5 separate regions of the Homo sapiens genome follow, and regions 1, 2, 3 and 4 are each linked to region 5. The links are contacts of gene promoters, found by promoter capture Hi-C in human tissues and cell types (Jung and others, 2019). All regions are on one chromosome and are shown on one strand. The core of a region is centred on a gene start or on the middle of the fragment in contact, and the rest is flanking DNA. Distances in the headings are between cores, read along the strand shown. Region 1 overlaps PDE2A (phosphodiesterase 2A). Region 2 overlaps FCHSD2 (FCH and double SH3 domains 2). Region 3 overlaps FCHSD2 (FCH and double SH3 domains 2). Region 4 overlaps FCHSD2 (FCH and double SH3 domains 2). Region 5 holds the start of STARD10 (StAR related lipid transfer domain containing 10).

The links. Contacts are between HindIII fragments. The study calls those that stand out against the background at their distance.
Region 1: a contact is called between a fragment that was not itself captured here and the fragment with the promoter of STARD10 in region 5, in 6 of the 25 tissues and cell types used here (H1 embryonic stem cells, bladder, heart left ventricle and 3 more).
Region 2: a contact is called between a fragment that was not itself captured here and the fragment with the promoter of STARD10 in region 5, in 2 of the 25 tissues and cell types used here (aorta and spleen).
Region 3: a fragment that was not itself captured here is called in contact with the fragment with the promoter of STARD10 in region 5 in 2 of the 25 tissues and cell types used here (hippocampus and pancreas).
Region 4: a fragment that was not itself captured here is called in contact with the fragment with the promoter of STARD10 in region 5 in 4 of the 25 tissues and cell types used here (hippocampus, mesenchymal stem cells, small bowel and 1 more).

Annotation. Positions count from the first base shown.
Region 1 is chr11:72,649,368-72,653,429 of GRCh38, forward strand. All of the region lies in intron 1 of PDE2A (phosphodiesterase 2A), which reads right to left. Among named protein-coding and RNA genes, the nearest start is that of PDE2A-AS1, 9.4 kb to the right of the region's middle. RefSeq lists an enhancer at 3,397-3,942. The HindIII fragment of the contact is 5,548 bases long and covers 1-4,062 here.
Region 2 is chr11:72,920,436-72,924,573 of GRCh38, forward strand. It overlaps FCHSD2 (FCH and double SH3 domains 2), which reads right to left. Exons shown (of 20, transcript NM_014824.3): 9 at 1,393-1,515. Among named protein-coding and RNA genes, the nearest start is that of ATG16L2, 110 kb to the left of the region's middle. The HindIII fragment of the contact is 9,036 bases long and covers 1-4,138 here.
Region 3 is chr11:72,993,423-72,997,545 of GRCh38, forward strand. All of the region lies in intron 5 of FCHSD2 (FCH and double SH3 domains 2), which reads right to left. Among named protein-coding and RNA genes, the nearest start is that of FCHSD2, 150 kb to the right of the region's middle. The HindIII fragment of the contact is 3,610 bases long and covers 1-3,354 here.
Region 4 is chr11:72,974,096-72,978,213 of GRCh38, forward strand. The region is part of intron 8 of FCHSD2 (FCH and double SH3 domains 2); the gene reads right to left. Among named protein-coding and RNA genes, the nearest start is that of ATG16L2, 160 kb to the left of the region's middle. The HindIII fragment of the contact is 5,357 bases long and covers 1-4,118 here.
Region 5 is chr11:72,791,520-72,795,541 of GRCh38, forward strand. It overlaps STARD10 (StAR related lipid transfer domain containing 10), which reads right to left and starts at 2,528. Exons shown (of 7, transcript NM_006645.3): 1 at 1,356-2,528. RefSeq lists enhancers at 653-1,152, 2,284-2,853. The HindIII fragment of the contact is 19,379 bases long and covers 1-4,022 here.

The DNA of each region.
Region 1 (4,062 bases), core at 1,403-3,902, 140 kb before region 5:
CTATATTTGTGTCCCTGTGTGCCTCCCCCATCAGACTGGGGCTCCTCTAGGCAGAGACTGAATCTGATTCAGCTGCACATGTCCGTGTTCAGCATAGGCCAGGCACAGAGCACAGGAGTTGGGGCTGGATCAGAGGCAGTGCCTAGGGTGCAGCAACCCCCTTTGTGAGGCCCAGGGACGTCTGGAAGGTGGGGCTGGTGGGGCCCCCAGAGCCAATCACACAAAACATGATTGTCTCAGGGAAGTGGCCTCCAGACTGCTTCCTCTGCCCCATCTGAACCCCTTTCTGGAGTCACTCTAGCCATTCAGCCCCTACCCTGCTTGCACACTCCCAGGGACAGGGAACTCACTTTCTTACCAGCCGGCTCCTTCCCATGTGGGATGGCTGTGCCTGACACAGACTCCTTCCACAGCGCCATCCTGTCAACCCCTGATCATCCTGAGCCACAGATTCCCATGGAAACCAGAAAGGAAGATGAGCAAAAGGAGAGGCAGATGCCAGCTTTCTTAGCAGCTCTAACAACCTTTCCAGCTTTGGGCAGAGTTGGGAAAAGGAGCTCTTGCTTCTCAGCCTACCCCAGGGACAGAAGACTCCCCCAGCCCCAACCGCCGTCCTCAGGAACCTGGAGCAGTGCAGAGACAGCCCTGAGACTTTTTTTTTTTTTTTTTTTTAGATGGAGTCTTGCTCTGTCGCCCAGGGCTGGAGTGCAGTGGTACAATCTCGACTCACTGCAACCTCCGCCTCTCAGGTTCAAGCAATTCTCCTGCCTCAGCCTCCCGAGTAGCTGAGATTACAGGCGCCTGCCATTACGCCCGGCTAATATTTGTATTTTTTGGTAGAGGCAGGGTTTCACCATGTTGGCCAGGCTGGTCTTGAAGTCCTGACCTCAAGTGATCCATCTGCCTTGGCCTCCCAAAGTGCTGGGATTACAGGCGTGAGCCACCGCGTGTAGCCAACCCCAAGAAACTCTTCAGCAACCTCCACTGAGCCACATCCCCTTGCTGAGCCCCCATCCTTCTCTCTGAGTCTCCACCCTCTCAAAAGGTCTCCCACCCACAGAGCCCTTGGCTCCATCCTAAGCCCCAGCCCATCACTAAATCCCCAGCCCCTTCACTGATCCCACACCCTTCAAAGACTCCCACTATATCTCTCATCCCCCCGTGCCCCACCTCACCGCAGATAAAGGTCCCAATCCTTCCCCAATCTCCTCCCCTTAGTGGCACCTCCTACCGTCCAGGCTGCAGAACCTGGAGGGGCTGCTCTGACTCCAGCCCTAGGAGTCCCATGGAGATGCCTCCTCCTGATCCTGGTAGCAGGCTGGGTAGGGGACGAAGGAGGCAGGCTGGTCCTCTGCCAAAGGCAGCCACCCAGAGCCCTGCCCTGTACCACCAGACAGCTGCAGCCCTGAGGCTGCCCGGCTTTCCTCCACCTGCTATTCCTGGGCTGGCCCCACTCCAGGGGTGCCTCAGGTTAGAGTCAGTCCCTGACCCCTGACCCCAGTCCCCACTACACACACACACACACACACACACACACACACACACACACACACACACACATACACAAAGGCTACTAAGAGCTGAGCCCATCAGAGATACCAAGGCAAGAAGGTCTAAGCAACAGGGACCAAGGCCCCATACTCTGAACACTCCCTGCTAACTCAGAAACCATCACACAGGGAGGCCCCAGTCTATGGCTTCAAGGCTCCAAGAACTCCCAGAGCTTCATGTTCTTAGAAAATCAAAGCTTCTGTTATAACACCCCATCATTCAAAAAGTCTGTTTTTCTTACATTCTGTGAATGCGAGAACCTGGGGTCTTGAGAATGTAGAAGCCCAAGATTCTAACATTCTAATGTCCTGACTGCCTGAGATGCCTGATTGCAGGACTCTAAGACTCCAGCACCTGGTTTCTATGCCCCTGAGAGCCTAATGGTCAGTGGGCTTGAGTCTCTGTGATGCCAGGTAAAGGGGAGGGCACAGCAGCAAGCACCTGTGTCTGCCTGCAGTTGGGGATACCAAGGACTGGGATTGGGAGAGCCCAAGGAAATGAACACCCACTCCCAAGGGGTGTCAAGGGAGTGATGGGTGTCCTGGAAGGGGCACGCAGGGAGAGGCCAGGGTCTGGGGGGGTGACTCGGTCTAACCACCATCTCCAACTCTCCAGCTGTGTCACCTTAGACAAGTGCCTCCTGGAGACCCCGTTTTCTCACTTCTAAACTGGGGATCAACTGGCCTTCCTTGAAAGGTGGCTGTGAATACATGAGAAGAGGCTCAAAAGTATTTAACAGAGAGCTTGGCACTCCCAACAGCTCAGAAAAGGATGTTGCTTGTTGTCCTTATGCCCCAGCAGGCCTCAGCATCCTCTGGCAGTGCCAGTGCCCATGGCTTGGGATAAGGGATCTTTAACCCTTTCCTGGCTGCCCAAGTGACATGAAACTCTGTCCTCAGGCCCCCGCCCAAGTCTATCTCATCTCCTTTCCTCCCTCCCCACCTTCCCTGGTGGCCTGAAGTCCTTAGTGCAGAAGACAGGCCTGAAAAGAGGGAAGAGCTGGGCCCTAGGACCAGGAAGCCCTCCTACTTCTGAGCCTGTTTCCTGATCTCTACGATGACAGAGTGGGGCCTTCCATGGACACTTGCTGGCCCCAGGATTCAGGCTGTGTGGCCATGGTGGCCTTGGTGGGCAGGCCTGGCAGGGAAAAGGAACCAGTGGGAGCCCCTCTCCTGGGACCAAGTGACAGGGCAGAAGTAGGGAGCAGCATGAGAATAAGCAAGGGGACCCCAATGTAGCTCCCTACCCAGCAGCCCCAAATGCTAGAGGAGAAATTAGTCAAGCCCATCCCTTTGCACCTGGCAAGAATATACCTCCCAGGAGACAGAGTCCCTTCTCCATGGGCCCATCAGCCTGCCTGTTGTGTTTTGTTTTTTTGAGATGGGGTCTCACTATGTTGCCCAGGCTGATCTGGAACTCCAGGGCTCAAGTGATCCTCCTGCCTCAGCCTCCCTAGTAGCTGGAATTACAGGTGCATGACATGGCACCCAGCTTGGCCTGGCTGCTTCTGGCAGAACCATTTCCAGATATGGCCCCTGGTCCTCCCTAAATACTCCAGCATATGTGAGGTGCATGCCAGCCTCCACCCCTTTGCTTACACCATTCCACAGGCCTGAAGAACCCTCCTTCTCCTCTCTGTCAATTAAATTTTAAACAACTTTAAAGGGGAAGGGAGGGGAATGGCCATTGATGACCACCTACTAAGTGCCAGATCTATTCTCTCATTTAATCTTCATGATATTATTAGCCCAATTTTACAGTTGATGAAACTGAGGCCCTGGGACCTGAGGTCATTCGTCCAAAGTCATGCAGCTAGAAATGATGGAACAGCAATTTCAACACAGCCCCTTCCAGCTCCCAAGCTTGTGCCTCTTGCAGCAGGCTGACTTGGGGAAAAGAGCCCAGGGCCTCCCCCAGTCCTTCCTTGGCTTCAGGGCTGTACTTGAGCAACTCCTCCCAGCCCAGCAGTCCCCCCAGCTCCAGAAGGCAGAGACCACAGTCCCCTCCTCTCTTGCCTCCTCAAGTTGGAGGCAACCTAGAGCCTGGCCACACTTCCTGATTGATCAAAAGGCACTCGCTCAATCGGCAAAGGCTCCTGTGGTGGGACTGGGAGATGTGGCATTCTGTTTCTAAGCACCCGTCGCTATGGAAGCCAGGTGCTGCCAGCCCAAGGCCTAGCAACAAGGCACGGTGCAGGGCGGAGGCCATTGTTTGGGGCTTCCGAGGCAGCCAGCAAGAGAGAGGGAGGGTGGACTCCATCTGTTCTCTGGGCTGGAGGGCTGGACCTGCTGCCTGGCTGGGCTCTCGAGGGGAAGAAGGAGGCAAAGAGGTCAAGACCAGTCAGGCCCTGAGAGACAGAGGCCCAGAGATAAGAGCAGAGAGAAGCATATAGAGAAAAACAAAGGGAGTTCAGAGACAGTGAAAGGCAGAGACACCATCAGACAGCAAGAGAGATTCGGGAAGGTGGAAAAAGATAAGAGCTGGCCAGAATCGCAGAGACTGCTTAGACAG
Region 2 (4,138 bases), core at 700-3,199, 130 kb after region 5:
ATAAACATAAAAAATTTGATCACGGCTGGGCATGGTGGCTCATGCCTGTAATCCCAGCACTTTGAGAGGCAAGGCGGGTGGACCACTTGAGGCCAGGACTTCAAGACCAGCCTGATCAACATGTTGAAACCTTGTCTCTACTAAAAATAACAACAACAACAACAAAATTGTTCACTCAAAAATCAACCACTTCATAGAAGGAACAAAGATAAGATTTTTTCATAGACTTTTCCCCCAACATTCTTTTCTGAAAAATTCAAATATATATACATTAAAATCAAACAAATTATACAGTAAATACTTATATACATACTACATAGATTCCTCAATTAATGTTTTACTACATTTTCCTTTTCTCTTAGATTTTGGGGGATGACAATATAGGAAAACAGATACATGACAGGACTTCAAAGCACCAGGCTAGTGATTTTTGTATTTCCGTATCAACCTAGCATTTTTAACACTTTTATAAACACAGAATTGAGAGCTCTGGTACAGTGAAAACAAGAATATATATACAAGAGGCATTCAGGATGAAGAGTCTGTGCTTTTCTTTCCTGTCTTTGGACACTGTCATGTGAAAATGGATATCCTGATCCCTCTCCTAAAAGTATTAGCCAGTTCTCACTCTCCCTGACAAAAAAAAAAAATTGAACTGGATCTTTTAAAGTAGCAGTTATGAAATGCGTATTTTTAAAAAATGCATTCCTTTAGTCAGGAAACATTTATTGTGAATTTAATTTATCAGATAAAAAACATTTGCCAACCACAGGAACAATTTATCTTCCAAAGGATAGTTTCACGACTGCAAAACATTTTAATCTATCAAATCTTGAAGAAAAGTCATTGCATTTATTTTCTCTGCATACAATGTGACATGTCAGCAAACCTGATGGATCTCAACACTTTTAAATGAAACGACTGCTGTCAAAGAATGACAGCATATAGATAGTAGGGCTTAATTTGAAAAAAACCCAAGACACTGTTGTTTTTATATCAATTACAAAACGCTCCTTTTCCCTTCGTGCTCTTTTAGTACTCTTTGTACTGACACATGACCTGTTGTTTCCCCCATGTGAGCAGAGTGCATTTAAACTCTGAGTAGAATACAAAACTGTTTAAACCCTTCTCAAAGGCAATGCACATGGCAATGGGCCAATGTTCTAAGCTACCTTGTATCAGCACCTCTCTTTTTGCCCTTGGTGCCATCTTCAACTCATCAACAAGGAGAACAGAATCTCCTCCAACTTTGTTAGAAGGAATGCTGTTACCAGGAAATTTGTTCGTTAATGCATTCTTCTAATATCACTAGTACCTTCATTTTCTTTGTATGCAGAAATACTTTAGCTTCTAAGTTGGATAACACTACACGTTGCACTAAAGGTAACTTACCTTGCTGGAGTTTTCTAATAAAAACTGGAATGTGTTCTGCACAGCTTGGCATGTTTCTAGCTCAGTCCGGCTGAAGGCTATTAAATAATCCTTGAGATGATCATACACATTTCCATCAAGAGCCTGTAATAGAGGAGTAAATAAAAGAAAAAAAATTACAGTAAAGCCTTGACATATGATATCTTCTGCCTATGAGAAAAGTAGGTATGTTCAGTTTAAAATTTATTATTAATAATAAATGGACAAAAGATACAGATTGTAAGTAAATATGAACAGTTAACAATCACTTGAGAAAATGTTGAATCTCTCTAATAAACAGGAACTAAAAGAGGTAAGATCCAATATTGGTAAAGCTGTGGGAAAACAGGACACAACTTAGAGACAAAATGCGTGGGTTCTGATCTTTGCTCATCTGCTTAGGTGTAGGAGTTAAGTGAAATAATAAACGTGAAAGGATGCAGGTGCAGTGCCTGGAAAAGAGTAGACACTCTACAATAATCTCCGTTTTCCCCCAATCCATTATTGGTAGGATTATACATTGGTATATGTATATTTACTGAACAGCAGTGACAGAAAAAACACAATAGAAATATTAAAAAAAGAAAAGTGACTCAGAGATACTGCTTTGGGGAAGAAAACCCAGTGTAATATCTATGAAGGGTTGGAAACATTCTTATTTCCTTAAACATTTTGTAACAGGGATCTTTGAAATAAAAAAAAAGGAGAGAAAATCACTGAACATTTGAGGAATGATTAAGCTATGATGTGTACTGTCACCAAAATAAAAACCGTGGAAACTGTATAGATGACAAGTATGTATCAAATAATTTTAGGTTAAAAAAACAGAATATACATATGACATATACACTAGCAATAACTATGGAAAAATATAATAATAATAATTAATAATAATCAAGGTTCTGAAGTCTTGCCAATCAGTAGAGGTAAAAATTGAGGTAAAATTCACCCAATATAAGTCACCATTTTAATAATTTTAAAGTGTACAACTCAGTGGCTTTTAGTACACTGACAAAGTTGTTTAACAATTTCCATTATCTAATTCCAGAACATTTCCACCACTTCTCCAAAAACACTGTACCTGTTAAGTGGTCATTCTCCATCCCTTCCTTCCCCCAGCCCCTGGCAACCACTAGTCTGCTTTCTACCTCTATGGATTTGCCTACTCTGGATATTTCATATAAATCAAATCATATAATATATGACTTTTGGTGCCTGGCTTCTGTTGCCCAGCATAATATTTTCAAGGCTCATTGATTTATCAGTACTTCATTCCTTTTTACAGCTTAATAATATTCAGTTGTACCACATTTTGTTTATTAATCAGGTGATATAAATTTGCCTTTTCCCCATTTTTTGACTATTATAAATAATGCTGCAAAGTTAAAAAATAAATAAATAATGCTGCTATGAACATTTGTGTACAAGGTTTTGTTTGAGCACCTGTTTCCATTTCTCTTGGGAATATACCCAGGAATGGAATTGCTCGGTCATATGATAACTCTATGTTTAATTTTGAGGAACTGTCAAACTGTTTTCCAGTGACTGCAACATTTTACCTTTCTACTAGCAATGTATGAGGGTTCAAATTCTCCACACCCTTGCCAACACTTATTCTTTTGTATTTTGGTATTTTTTTTTTAAATTATGAAAGCCATATTAGTGATTAGGAACGGTATATCTTTGTAGTTTTGATTTGCATTTCTCTAATGACTATGTTGAGCAACTTTTCATGTGCTTATTTGGCCATTTGTATATCTTCTTTGGTGAAAAGCCTACTCAAGTCCTTAACTCATTTTTAAATTAGGTTGTCAGGTTGGGTGTGGTGGGTCACGCCTGTAATCCCAGCACTTTGAGAGGCTGAGGTGGGCGGATCAAGAGATCAGGAGTTCGAGACCAGCCTGGCCAAAATGGTGAAACCCCGTCTCTACTAAAAATACAAAAATTAGCTGATGTAGTGGCGTCTGCCTGTAATCCCAGCTACTTGGCAGGCTGAGGCAGGAGAACTGCTTGTACCCAGGAGGTGGAGGTTGCAGTAAGCCGAGTTTGTGCTATTGAAATACAGCTCTGCGTGACAGAGCAAGACTCAGTCTCAGAAAATAAATAAATAAATAAAGTTGTCTTTTTGTTGTTGGGTTGTAAGAATCCTTTATATATTCTGGATACTAGATTCTTACAATATGTATGATTTGCAAATATTTTCTCCCATTTTGTGGGCTGTCTTTTCACTTTCTTGAAAGTTTCTTTTGATGTACAAAAGTTTTACTTTTTTAAAAAAAGTGATAAGGTCTTGTCATGTTTCCCAGGCTGGACTCAAACTTCTGGGTTCCAGTAATCCGCCTGTCTCAGCCTCCTAAATAGCTGGGACCACAGGCACTCACCACTGCATCTGGCTTACAAGTTTTAAATTTTGATGCAGTCTAATTTAGCTATTTTTCTTTCTTTTTTTTGAGACAGAGTCTTGCTCTATTGCCCAGGCTGGAGTGCAGTGGCATGATCTCGGCTCACTGCAAGCTCTGCCTCCTGGGTTCATGCCATTCTCCTGCCGCAGCCTCCCGAGTAGCTGGGACTACAGGTGCCCGCCACCACACCCGGCTTTTTTTTTTTTTTGTATTTTCAGTAGAGACGGGGTTTCACCGTGTTAGCCAGGATGGTCTCGATCTCCTGATCTCGTGATCCGCCCACCTTGGCCTCCCAAAGTGCTGGGATTACAGACATGAGCCACCAC
Region 3 (4,123 bases), core at 300-2,799, 200 kb after region 5:
GATTATAAATCATGCTGCTATAGAGACACATGCACACATATGTTTATTGTGGCACTATTCACAATAGGAAAGACTTGGAACCAACCCAAATGTCCAACAATGATAGACTGGATTAAGAAAATGTGGCACATATACACCATGGAATACTATGCAGCCATAAAAATGATGAGTTCATGTCCTTTGTAGGGACATGGATGAAGCTGGAAACCATCATTCTCAGCAGACTATCGCAAGGACAAAAAACCAAACACCGCATGTTCTCACTCATAGGTGGGAATTGAACAATGAGAACACATGGACACAGGAAGGGGAACATCACACACTGGGGCCTGTTGTGGGGTGAGGGGAGGGGGGAGGGATAGCATTTGGAGATATACCTAATGTTAAATGACGAGTTACTGGGTGCAGCACACCAACATGGCACTGTATACATATGTAACTAACCTGCACGTTGTGCACATGTACCCTAAAACTTAAAGTATAATAAAAATAAATAAATAAATAAATATCGGATAGAAAAGCCAGGCTTTGGGCTTCTGTGAGTACGGTGTATCCGGACATGTCCCTTACAGGGACACTGGAAGCTCTGTCTATAGAGTTGTTGTAAAAAATTTTAGTCTCCTTTAGGGGCTAAAGCTGGCTCTGCAAATGTGTCTCACTCCCTTGTCCTAGACCTGTCACTTGGAGGACCAAACAGAATAACTGGTCAGCTATGTGGACCGAGACATACAATAGTGGGAGAATTATTTCCATTAATGCTAGATGCTTCCCTACTGGCAAATTGTGTTTCCTGTACTCTGTCCTTCTCAGTAAACCTCTTGTCAGGTGTGGCCTATGAGAGCCAAGGGAGTCTGAATGCTTATTACTTCTAAAAAGACCCCTTGTGGGCACTGCACAGGTGCTATGTTTCGTACTTTACAGGTATTATCACATTTAGTCCTTGAAACGACTCTATGAAAAAGGTAGTAGTAGTAGTAGCAGCAGCAGCAGTAGTAGTAGTAGCAGTGATCCCATTAAGATGAGAAAATAGACTCAGATGTTAAATAATTTACTCTGAGTCACACGGCAAGGATGTGATGATACCATTTACTATGGAACCCATTAAAGTGTGTACCCTAGTTCTGTGATGACCATGTTTTAAGATATAGTGTAAACTCACGGTGAAACCCCGTCTCTACTAAAAATACAAAAAAATTAGCTGGGTGTGGTGGTGGGCGCCTGTAGTCCCAGCTACTCGGGAGGCTGAGGCAGGAGAATGGCTTGAACCCAGGAGGTAGAGCTTGCAGTGAGCCGAGATCATGCCACTGCACTCCAGCCTGGGTGACAGAGCGAGACTCCATCTCAAAAAACAAAACAAAAAAAAGATATAGTGCAAACTGTATCTTATAGATGTAGTTTATCTTAAAAGCTTTTAAAAAATTGACATATAATTCACATACAACAAAATTCACCTTTTTAAAGTATACAATTCAGTGGTGACAAGGTTGTTCAACCATTACTCTGCTTGAATTCCAAAACATTTTCCTACCCCAAAAAGAAACTCTGTATCCATTAGCTGTCACTCCCCATTTCTCCCCACTTCCAACAACAATTAATCTATTTTTGTCTCTATGGAGTTCCTTTTTGGGATATTTAGTACAAATGGAATCAAATAATATGTGGCCTTATGTTTCTCACTTCTTTCACTTATCAAAACATTTTTAGGGTTCATTCAAGTTGTAGCAGGTGTCAGTACTTCATTCCTTTTTATCGCCGAATAGTATTTTGTTACATATAAACTAAAAGTAAGCTTTTATCTTGCAGAACGAAAAGCTGTTTTCCCCCTAAATTGTAATAGTACTTATCAAATACAAAGTTTTTGTTTAATAAATGACAAGATGACAACCTGACACTCCCATAAAGAAGTGCTAAACATTCTAATAATGCTGTGTTTGCAGGTGTGAAGAGCTAAAAGCAGGCTCCATGGCTACAATTTTGATATTAAGAACCAAAAACTGGGCCAGGTGCGGTGGCTCACACCTGTAATCTTAGCACTTTGGGAGGCTGAGGCGGCCAGATATCTTGAGCCCTGGAGTTCGAGACCACCCTGGGCAACATGGTGAAACCTCATCTCTAAAAAAAAAGTACAAAAATCAGCCAGGTGTGGTGGCAAGCACCTGTAGTCCCAACTACTTGGGAGGCTGGGGTGGAAGGATCACTTGAGCCCAAGAGGTTGAGGCCACAGTGAGCCGTGTTCATGCCACTGCACTCTAGCAGGGGTGACAGAGCAGAGAAAAATTCTGTCTCAAAAAAAAAAAAAAAAGGAAGAAGTTAAAAGTATAGTCTCTGAGTATGACAGAGACACAATAATAAACTTGCTAATAACTTGAATATAAGAATACAAATAAAAGTAACCTGGGCCAACACATCGAAGTCCTACAAATGATTAGGTTCTCTAACCCAGTAATAATGCCCTAGAAATTTATCCTAAGAAAAAAATTTAAAAAGTTAATTTTTACTGTAGACTTAAGGGTAATGTCCAAACCCAGTTGTATAATTAAAGAAAGCAGAATGGAAAATTCACAAAATAATAAAAAATAATAAACATAAAGGTTATGTAGAAACATGAACAATTAATTAGGAAATTGGGAGAATGAGGATAAAAGGAGCAAGATAAAAGGAGTAAGAGAATTAAGTAGTCTACTATGGTGAAGGCATTTACATGTATTTTTCTATAAACCTGTTTCAATATTAAGCTTTGTTTTAAAAGCATTGTACAGGATTTGGAATTAGGAAGTAGTAGTATATTCAAGTTCCCACTCTGTTATTTACTACCTAAGTCTCTTTAACATTTTTAGCTTTAGTTTTATCATTTGTAAAATAATAATACTTAAATACTATCAGGGTTGTGTAAAAATCAAATGTGACTATAATGGATATGGCAGCAGTTTGCAAACTCTAAAGTGTTATACAAATGTGAACCACAATATTTCAAGGATGGTAAGTAAACTCTAGTATAAATGTGAAAGATACGGACAAAAGTATGGTTAAGTAAACATAAGAATGGCAAAAAGCCTTAAGTTATTGTAGCTCTCATTCTAATTTTTAAGCAAATGTCAGCATACAGAAAATAATTTTGAAAAATGTAATAATTCTCATAATCCTCATTATAAACTGGGGCTCTGCATAATTGTAATACAATTGTGTTTATCTTCCAAGCATTATAAAAGAAAATAGTCAAATTAGAGAAAATCTTTAAAAAAACATGAACTTTAAAATGTTGTAGAGGAAAAATTTTAAGTCAGATTGGTTCTGATCATGACAGAACAACTTGGATCAGACTACCTTTCTCTAGACTGGAAAGTGTAAAAGTTGAACAAAATACATTTTTAAAAAACTGCCAGCATTAAAGACCACCACCACACACTGGACTTAAAGGACTAAGACACCCAGGAAAAGAGGAATACACCAAGGTAAGTCTTAAATTCAACTTAATGTTTTTCCTTAGGGCATTTGTTGAATCATGGTATAAAGAAATAGGACAGAAACAGAAAGTGGCATTTTTACGAGACTGGGGAGACAGAGGTTGGAGTTTAGGGATGCCAAAAGAACAGGAACTTGAGAGGTAAGGGTCTAGAAAGAGGGGTACTGCAGAAAAGCAAGTCCAAAAATCTGTATGCAATTTCCCCTTGGGTTAACAGATGACTTCTAAAAAGCAGGTGTTGGGTAAAATGCCAAGAAATCCAGTAGAGAACTATAGCCGAGAGGCCAAAGAGTGAGCAGAGATCAGAGCATCAGAGCAGCTACACGATGTTGAGAAGACAAAGGTTAGAGTTCAAGTCTTGTCAAATTAGAAGGGTCTTGGTAAGCACCCTATATTTTCAGTTAAAACTCTAGGAGTAAGTGAAACAGAATAGCCCTAAAAAGCCTAAAACCAGAGATCCTAACAGAATCAAGGTGATCTAATAGCATTCTATCCACTTGCCAGAAGAAAGCTTAACCCTCTTTGGAAATAACATCTTCCCAGAGCCTCTACAGTTTTTATCCACAATGTCCAATATTGTGAGTCATAATCAAACAGAAGACCCAAATAACCAAAAATCAAGAAAAACCGCAGGCGGTTAAAAGAGACCTACAGTAATTC
Region 4 (4,118 bases), core at 1,423-3,922, 180 kb after region 5:
AGTTTTGGTCCATTTTCTGTTGCTATAACAGAATACCACAAACTGGGTAATTATAAACAACAGACGTTTATTTGGTTCATGGTTCTCGGGACTGGGAAGTCCAGGTGTAGGGGCCTGTATCTGGCAAGGGCCTTCACGCTGTATCATCCCATGGTAGAAAGCAGAAGAGCAACAGAACACAAGAGGGAAAGTGGAAAGGGGCCAAACTTTTCCTTTTATCAGGAACCCACTCCTGTAATAAATAACTCACTCTCACAACAATGGCAATAATCCATTCATAAGGGCTCTGCCCTCATGACCTAATGACCTTTTAAAAGTCCCACTTCTCAGTATTGTTGCATTGGGAATTAGGTTTCCAACACATGAACTTTAGAGGACACATTCAAACCATAACAAGTAAAAACAAAATAAGCTTTAGAGCACTGCTGTTCAACAGAGTTTTCTAAGATGGCAAAAATGTTCTATATCTGCACTGTCCAACATGGTAGACACTAGTCACATGTGGCCTTTAAGCATTTGAAATATGGCTACTGGGACTGAGAAACAGAATTTTAAAATGCATTTATTTTTAGTTACTTTCAGTATTCACAAGTACCAGTGGTAAAGGCACAAATATGAATAATTAAAGGGCAGGCTGCAGACAGATTTGAGAATCATATGGTATTTATGGGAACTGAGTCAAATGATTACTCTCTCCAAGAAAGAGGGCATTAAAAAAAAAAGGATATAAAGCAAGAGAAGCAGAGATTTAACAGAATTAAAGCAGAATTAAGCAGAATTTAATAGAATTGAAGACTTCCATGCTAATTAATTAAGTAAACAGACATTAGGTGAATCAGAGGTACAAGAGCTAGAGACGACAGAGAAACCAGAAGAGCCACAACTCAAAATAAAAAAGATGAGTTATATACGCCTACATATGAATGAGGAAGATTTTTGGAATTAATGCTTAGCCAGAAAAACCGAAAAAGAACTTGGCTTTCTGTTCCTGGCTTATTTCACTTAACATAATGTCCTCTAGGGTCATCCATGTTATTGCAAATGACAGGATTTCAATCTTCTTTATGGCTGAATAATATTTCATTGTGTATATATACTACATTTTCTTTATCCATTTATCCACTGACGGACATTTAGGTTGATTCCACATCTTAGCTATTGTGAATAGTGCTATAAGACATCTCTTCAACATACTGATTTCCATTCATTTGGATATATATCCAGCAGTAGAGAGTAGATTGGTGGTTACCAGAGGTTGGGAAGGATAGGAAGGTGGGGCCAATGAGAGGTTGGTTAATGGGTATAAAATTACAGTCAGATAGAAGGAATACATTCTACTGTTTAATAGCACAGCAGGGTGACTATAGTTAACAATAATTTATGGTATATTCTAAAACAGGTAGGAGAGAAGATTTGGAAATGTTCTCAACACTCCATGATATATAATAAATATTTGAGATGATGGATATCTCAATTACCCCCATTTGATCCTTACACATTGTACGCATGCATCAAAATATCACACATACACTATAAATATATAGTTATTATGTATCAATTTTAGAAAGGATTTGTATATTAATGTTTTTCTCTTCATTTGATCAAAAAAAGTCTGCAAAAGATAAGTCAAATTATATTTTCTAGATTTCTGCCATACAGAAAGATGTTTATCTTTTATTACTTCACCAAATTATCAACTAGTCAATGTATGTTTGGCTTCCACTGAAGAAATATTTGTCTAGAAATAAATCCTATTAAGAATTACTAAGCTTTTAAAAAATCTTCCATTAAATTGACGTTTGTTCTCTTTTCTACTATGACACACTGTATCTCATTCTTCCTCATCCAAACCACAAAGAAAATATTTCACAAGCTTCTAAAAAATGTTAGTTCATATATTGCACAAGAACATGCTATGAAAAAGGAACATGTGAGGAACAAATTATCTCACCACAAACCAGCTGAGTTGATTTCTGTAGATTTGATGAAATCAGTTATCTGATTTCCAGGGTCTAGCAATAGTTTTTTGTTTGTTTGTTTTAGTTTAGAGTTTAAAGAAATCTGCCTAATAATATACAGACAGAGAAAGATATATTCAGTATCTGCTCTAGTAACTACTGGCATAAGAAATAAATAGTATTTCTTGGGGAATCTGTCCAAATACTTGTATTTAGATATCAACATGAACTTATTCTTTTTATTTCCTTTTTTTAAGAGATGAGGTCTCACTTTGTCACCCAGGCTGGAGTGCTGTGGCAGGATCATAGCTCACTGTAGCCTTCAATTCCTGGGCTCAAGTTATCTTCCCACTTCAGCCTCCTGAGTAGCTGGGACTACAAGCACGTGCTAATTTTTAAATTTTTTTGTAGAGACAAAGTCTCACTATGCTGCCCAGGCTGGTCTCAAACGCTTGGACTCAAGTGATCCTCCCACCCCCGCCTTCCAAAGTGCTGGGATGACAGGTGTAAGCCACTGTGCCAGGCCTGATCTTATTCTTCAGAATAATTAGGCTGGGGAAAAGAAAACTGGAGGAATCACATTACCTAACTTCAAATTATACTACAGAGCTATAGTAACCAAAACAGTATGGTACTGGCATAAAAATAGACTCACAGACCAATGGAACAGAAGACAGAACCCAGAATCAAATCCATACATCTACAGTGAACTCATTTTCAACAATGGTGCTAAGAACATACACTGGGGGAAAAGTGCTGGGAAAACTGGACATCCATATGCAGAAGAATGAAACTAGACCCCTATCTCTCACCATATACAAAAATCAAATCAGAATGAATTAAAGACTTAAATCTAAGACCTCAAACTATGAAACTTTTTTTTTTTTTTTGAGACAGAGTCTTGCTCTGTTGCCCAGGCTGGAGTGCAGTGGCATGATCTCGGCACACTGTGACCTCCACTTCCCGGTTCAAGCGATTCTCCTGCCTCAGCCTCCTGAGTAGCTGGGACTACAGGTGCCCACCACCACACCTGGCTAATTTTTGTATTTTTAGTAGAGACAGCATTTCACCATATTGGCCAGGTGGTCTTGAACTCCTGACCTTGTGATCCACCTGCCTTGGCCTCCCAAAGCGCTGGGATTACAGGTGTGAGCCACTACACCCAGCCCAAAACTATTAAAATAAAGCATTGGGGGAAATTCTCTAAGACACTGGACTGGGCAAAGATTTCTTGAGTAATACCCTGTAAGCACAGGCAATCAAAGCAAAAATGGACAAATGGGATCACATCAAGTTAAAAAACTTCTGCACAGCAAAGTAAACAATCAACAAAGTGCAGAGACAGCCCATGGAATGGTAAAAAATATTTGTAAATTATCCAGTTGACAAGGGATTAATAACCAGAATATATAAGGAGCTCAAACAACTCTATAGGAAAAAAAAATCTAATAATCTGATTTTTAAAATGAGCAAAAGCATCATCACTGGCCATCAGAGAAATGCAAATCAAAACTACAATGAGATACCATCTCACACCAGTTAGAATTTTAGTATATGTGCTGCCGAAGCGAGCACGCTCTCACACCAGTTAGAATGGCAATCACTAAAAAGTCAGGAAACAACAGGTGCTGGAGAGGATGTGAAGAAACAGGAACACTTTTACACTGTTGGTGGGACTGTAAACTAGTTCAACCATTGGGGCGATTCCTCAAGGATCTAGAACTAGAAATACCATTTGACCGAGCAATCCCATTACTGGGTATATACCCAAAGGATTATAAATCATGCTGCTCTGAAGACACATGCACATATATGTTTACTGCAGCACTATTCAAAATAGCAAAGACTTGGAACCAACCCAAATGCCCATCAATGATAGACTGGATTAAGAAAATGTGGCATATACACCATGGAATACTATGCAGTCATAAAAAAGGATGAGTTCATGTCCTTTGTAGGGACATGGATGAAGCTGGAAACCACCATTCTGAGCAAACTACAGCAAGGACAGAAAACCAAACACCACATGTTCTCACTCATAGGTGGGAATTGAACAATGAGAACACTTGGACACAGGGTGGGGAACATCACACACTGGGGCCTGTCATGGGGTGGGGGGAGCGGGGAGGGATAGCGTTAGGAGATATACCTAATGTAAAT
Region 5 (4,022 bases), core at 1,278-3,777:
GGTGAAACCGTGTCTCTACTAAAAATACAAAAAATTAGCCAGGCATGGTAGTGGGCACCTGTAATCCCAGCTACTTGGCAGGCTGAGGCAGGAGAATTGCTTAAACCCAGGAGGCGGAGGTTGCAGTGAGCCAAGATCGCACCCTTGCACTCCAGCCTGGGCAACAAGAGTGAAATTCCGTCTCAAAAAAAAAAAAAGAGGTCCTTTTCCTTCTTTAGCCTCAGTTTCTCTGGCTGAAAAACAGAAATGATAAGTGAAGGCCCAGATAATTAAATGCTTGGAGGTGAATCCAAGATCCACCTCCAGATAATTCCATTGAATTATCTTGGATACCTTTTTGTTGTTGTGTTTTGTTTTGTTTTGTTTTGTTTTGAGACGGAGTTTCGTTCTTGTTGCCCAGGCTGGAGTGCAATGGCACCATCTCGGCCCACGACAACCTCCGCCTCCTGGGTTCAAGCGATTCTTCTGCCTCAGCCTCCCGAGTAGCTGGGACTACCGGCATACACCACCACACCTGGCTAATTTTTTTTTTTTTTTTTTTTTTTTTTGAGACAGAGTCTTACTCTGTCAGCCAGGCTGGAGTACAGTGGCGCCATCTCGGCTCACCGCAAGCTCCGTCTCCCGGGTTCACGCCATTCTCCTGCCCCAGCCTCCCGAGTAGCTGGGACTACAGGTGCCCGCCACAACGCCCGGTTAATTTTTTTTTTTGTATTTTTAGTAGAGATGGAGTTTCTCCACTTTGGTCAGGCTGATCTCAACCCCCAACCTCAGGTGATCCGCTCGCCTCAGCCTCCCAAAGTGCTGAGATTACAGGCGTGAGCCACCGTGCCTGGCCTATCTGGGATATCTTGAAGGATCTTGGATTTCTATTTCTACATATACCTGCCTTTCATGACTTGCCTGGGGAGGCCCAATCTGTAATGAGACCTCAGGGTCTCCCAGCCCTTCCCCCAACCTACCCCCAAAACCTCTAAGAGCACTCTAGAGAGAATCAGCTGCATACAGCCCAGCTCCACCGCTCCAAGGGTCAGAGAAAAGTCCCCTTCCCTGGGGTTAGCTGCATGATCCTGCAGGTGCCATGGTGTGCCTAGGTGCCACCTCGCTTCACCTGGCTGGGGAGTGGCTCCTAGACCTCAGCTCAATGCGCATCACTTCCCCTTCTCATCAGCCAGGCCAGCCCAGGTATCACCTCCAGCTCCACTGCCCCCAGATGGAGTTACCTGAGTACCCAATTCCTCCCAAGCTCAGAAACAGTGTCCACTGCCTTCCCACTCCTTTCCATTCAGAGTCTGTCCCCTTAGTGCTGCCCCCTCATCTGTCACACCTGGGTTCTTTCCCTTACTTGGGCCACTGACCTGAGAAGCAGGGTCTGTACAGCTCCAGCAACACTCTCCTCTTCCTCCAGAATTCTCCAGATCCTCCTCAGCTTCTTGGCTCTGGTGCTCATCTCAACACAGCAGGGTCTTCCTCCATCAGGCCAAGGTGGGGGTAGGAGAAGAATTGGGAACAGGGACTCCCCTAGGTTCTCAGGGTACAGTCAGTCAATCTAAGCCTGTATCCAACAAAGACACTGACCCCTGGGGTACAAGGAAGGGCTCCAGGCCCAAAGGCAGGAGGATTAGGCTTTAGCTCTTGCTCACAGCCTGCTGAGACCTGGGGCAAGCCCCTGTCCCTCTTTGGGCCCTCAGGTTTGCAATTTGCAGAATGAGGAAATGGGTTCCTCAATCTACAATCACCTGACTATAATAATATTTTGCCTTTATATACCGCGTGGGTAAATTCCTGAAAGTAAACTAAGCTGTTTTCACCCCTGGATCTCATTTGATCCTCCCAACAGCCTGTTTGCATTTACAAATGAGAAAGCTCAGTTCCCTAAGGGAACAAAATTACCCAAAGTCACACAGCAAGCTGGAAGCAGAGCCTGGGTGCAGTCCTTGAATCCTGATCCTTCCCTGGTCCTTTACTCTCTATGATGCTGGAAATCTGCCTGACTTCCTCTAACCTGTTGTCCCATTTGTAAAAGGACTGTTGTGAGGACTGAATTAGGAGAGGCGATGAAGAGGGTCATTCCTTGTGAATCATAAAAGAAAGGACCACAGAACGATGACTGGACCGTTAGGTTACTATTTATTACGGTTATCTTCGCTCAGGCGCCCCCACGTGTCGATCCCGAGACTCTCGGCTTGCGCAGGCGCTCTTTGGTGTTTACAGCGGCCGCGAAGCCCCGCGTTTGCGCGTGCGCTTCCCGCCCGGGACCGCCCAGAGGTCCCGGACTAGGGGCGGACTAGGGGCCGCTCTGCCTCCCGCCCCCTAGTGGTTGTGGCCGCTCTGTCACCACGGCTCCCGGGGCCTCTGTCGGCTCCACTTTGGTTGAGACGTCTCCACAGCCCAACAACGGCGGCGATCTGAGGAGAGGCAGGAGAAAATACGGCGCGCTCGGCATCGTCCTTCTGACCGGGGACTCCAGCATCTCAGTCATCGCGTCACCAAGCCCCACGTGCAGGTTCTGGCATCCATCATGGCAAACTGGAGACCGCGGTGAATTCCACCGGAATGGCGCGCGCATTGCCACATGGGAACTGTAGTTCTTGGCTAGGACCTTTCTGGGGCTGGGCCGCTGGAAAAACTACATTTCTCAGGAGCTCAAGAGTCAGGCTGACAGAAAGGGGGCCCGCGGCATGTTGGGAGATGGAGTTTGGGGGGTTCGTGCTAGCAGGGAAACAGTGAAGCAATGGAGCCAAGTGTTCTGAGCCTGGGCCTGTGGGTTTGAGTTGGGCAGGAGTTACACAGTAGCTCTTATAAGAGAGGAGTAGCATTGTTGCGGCTTTTAGAAAGAATGCTACTTATTAGTTGTGTGATCTGAGCGATCAAGACAAATGCCCCTTTATCTTTTTTATTTATTTATTTTTTGAGACAGGGTCTCTGTCTGTCAGGCTGGAGTGCAGTGGCCCCAGAACTGCTGGCCTCCCGCCTCACCCTCCCAAAGTGCTGGGATTATAGGCGTGAGCCATCAGGCCTGGCCAGATGCCTTTTTATCAACTACGATGGACCTTAAGGTTAAGGTTAAGGAAACAAACGTTGCCTACCTCAGGGCTCAGCTGTCAGCTGGCATGGCAACTTCTTAAATTTCTACTGCTGCCAGAAAAACCACACTCTTACTAAACCCCTAGCAATAGGAGCTATCATGCAAATTGTCAGACTCTTCTTTACTGAGATTTACAACTCAGACCACTACAACGCTGATCGACAGAGGACAGGCCTTACAAACATTCTTTCCTGATAAGTAACTGCAGACCTCAGGCCAGTTTCAGCAAGCTCATAGAGACTGCACGCAAACTGTGTTTGTGTCCTATAGTCCACCTTATGATGCAAAGAACCAAATTCCACCTCACTTTAACGCAAAAACCCCATCCCAAAGTGAACATGGAACATATGTTACAGGTGTTTACCCATTGTGCATGCACTCACATCCCCTCATAAATATGTATAGCTTTTCCCCAAAACCTGCTGAATATGTATGATTATTGTGAAATACAGACCCTGTGAGTCATAAACCAGCCTAGGCCGGGAGTGGTGGCTCACGCCTGTAATCCCAGCACTTTGGGAGGCCAAGACGGGCGGATCACGAGGTCAGAAGATTGAGACCATCCTGGCTAACATGGTGAAACCCCGTCTCTACTAAAAATACAAAAAAATTAGCTGGGTGTGGTGGCGGGCGCCTGTAGTCCCAGCTACTCGGGAGGCTGAGGCAGGAGAATGGCATGAACCTGGGAGGTGGAGGTTGCAGTGAGCCGAGATCGCACCACTGCATTCCAGCCTGGGCGACTGAGCGAGACTCCGTCTCAAAAAACAAAAACAAAAAACAACCAGCCTGCCTTTTCCCTATACAAAGAGAGAGCACCTTTGGTACCTACAGGAGAGTGTCTCTTTTCAGTTTGCAAACTGATGTCGCTAATGAAACTGCCCTCTACTATTTAGGCATCCTGGTGTTCTAGAGGGTAGCAGTCTGCACCTCTCACAGG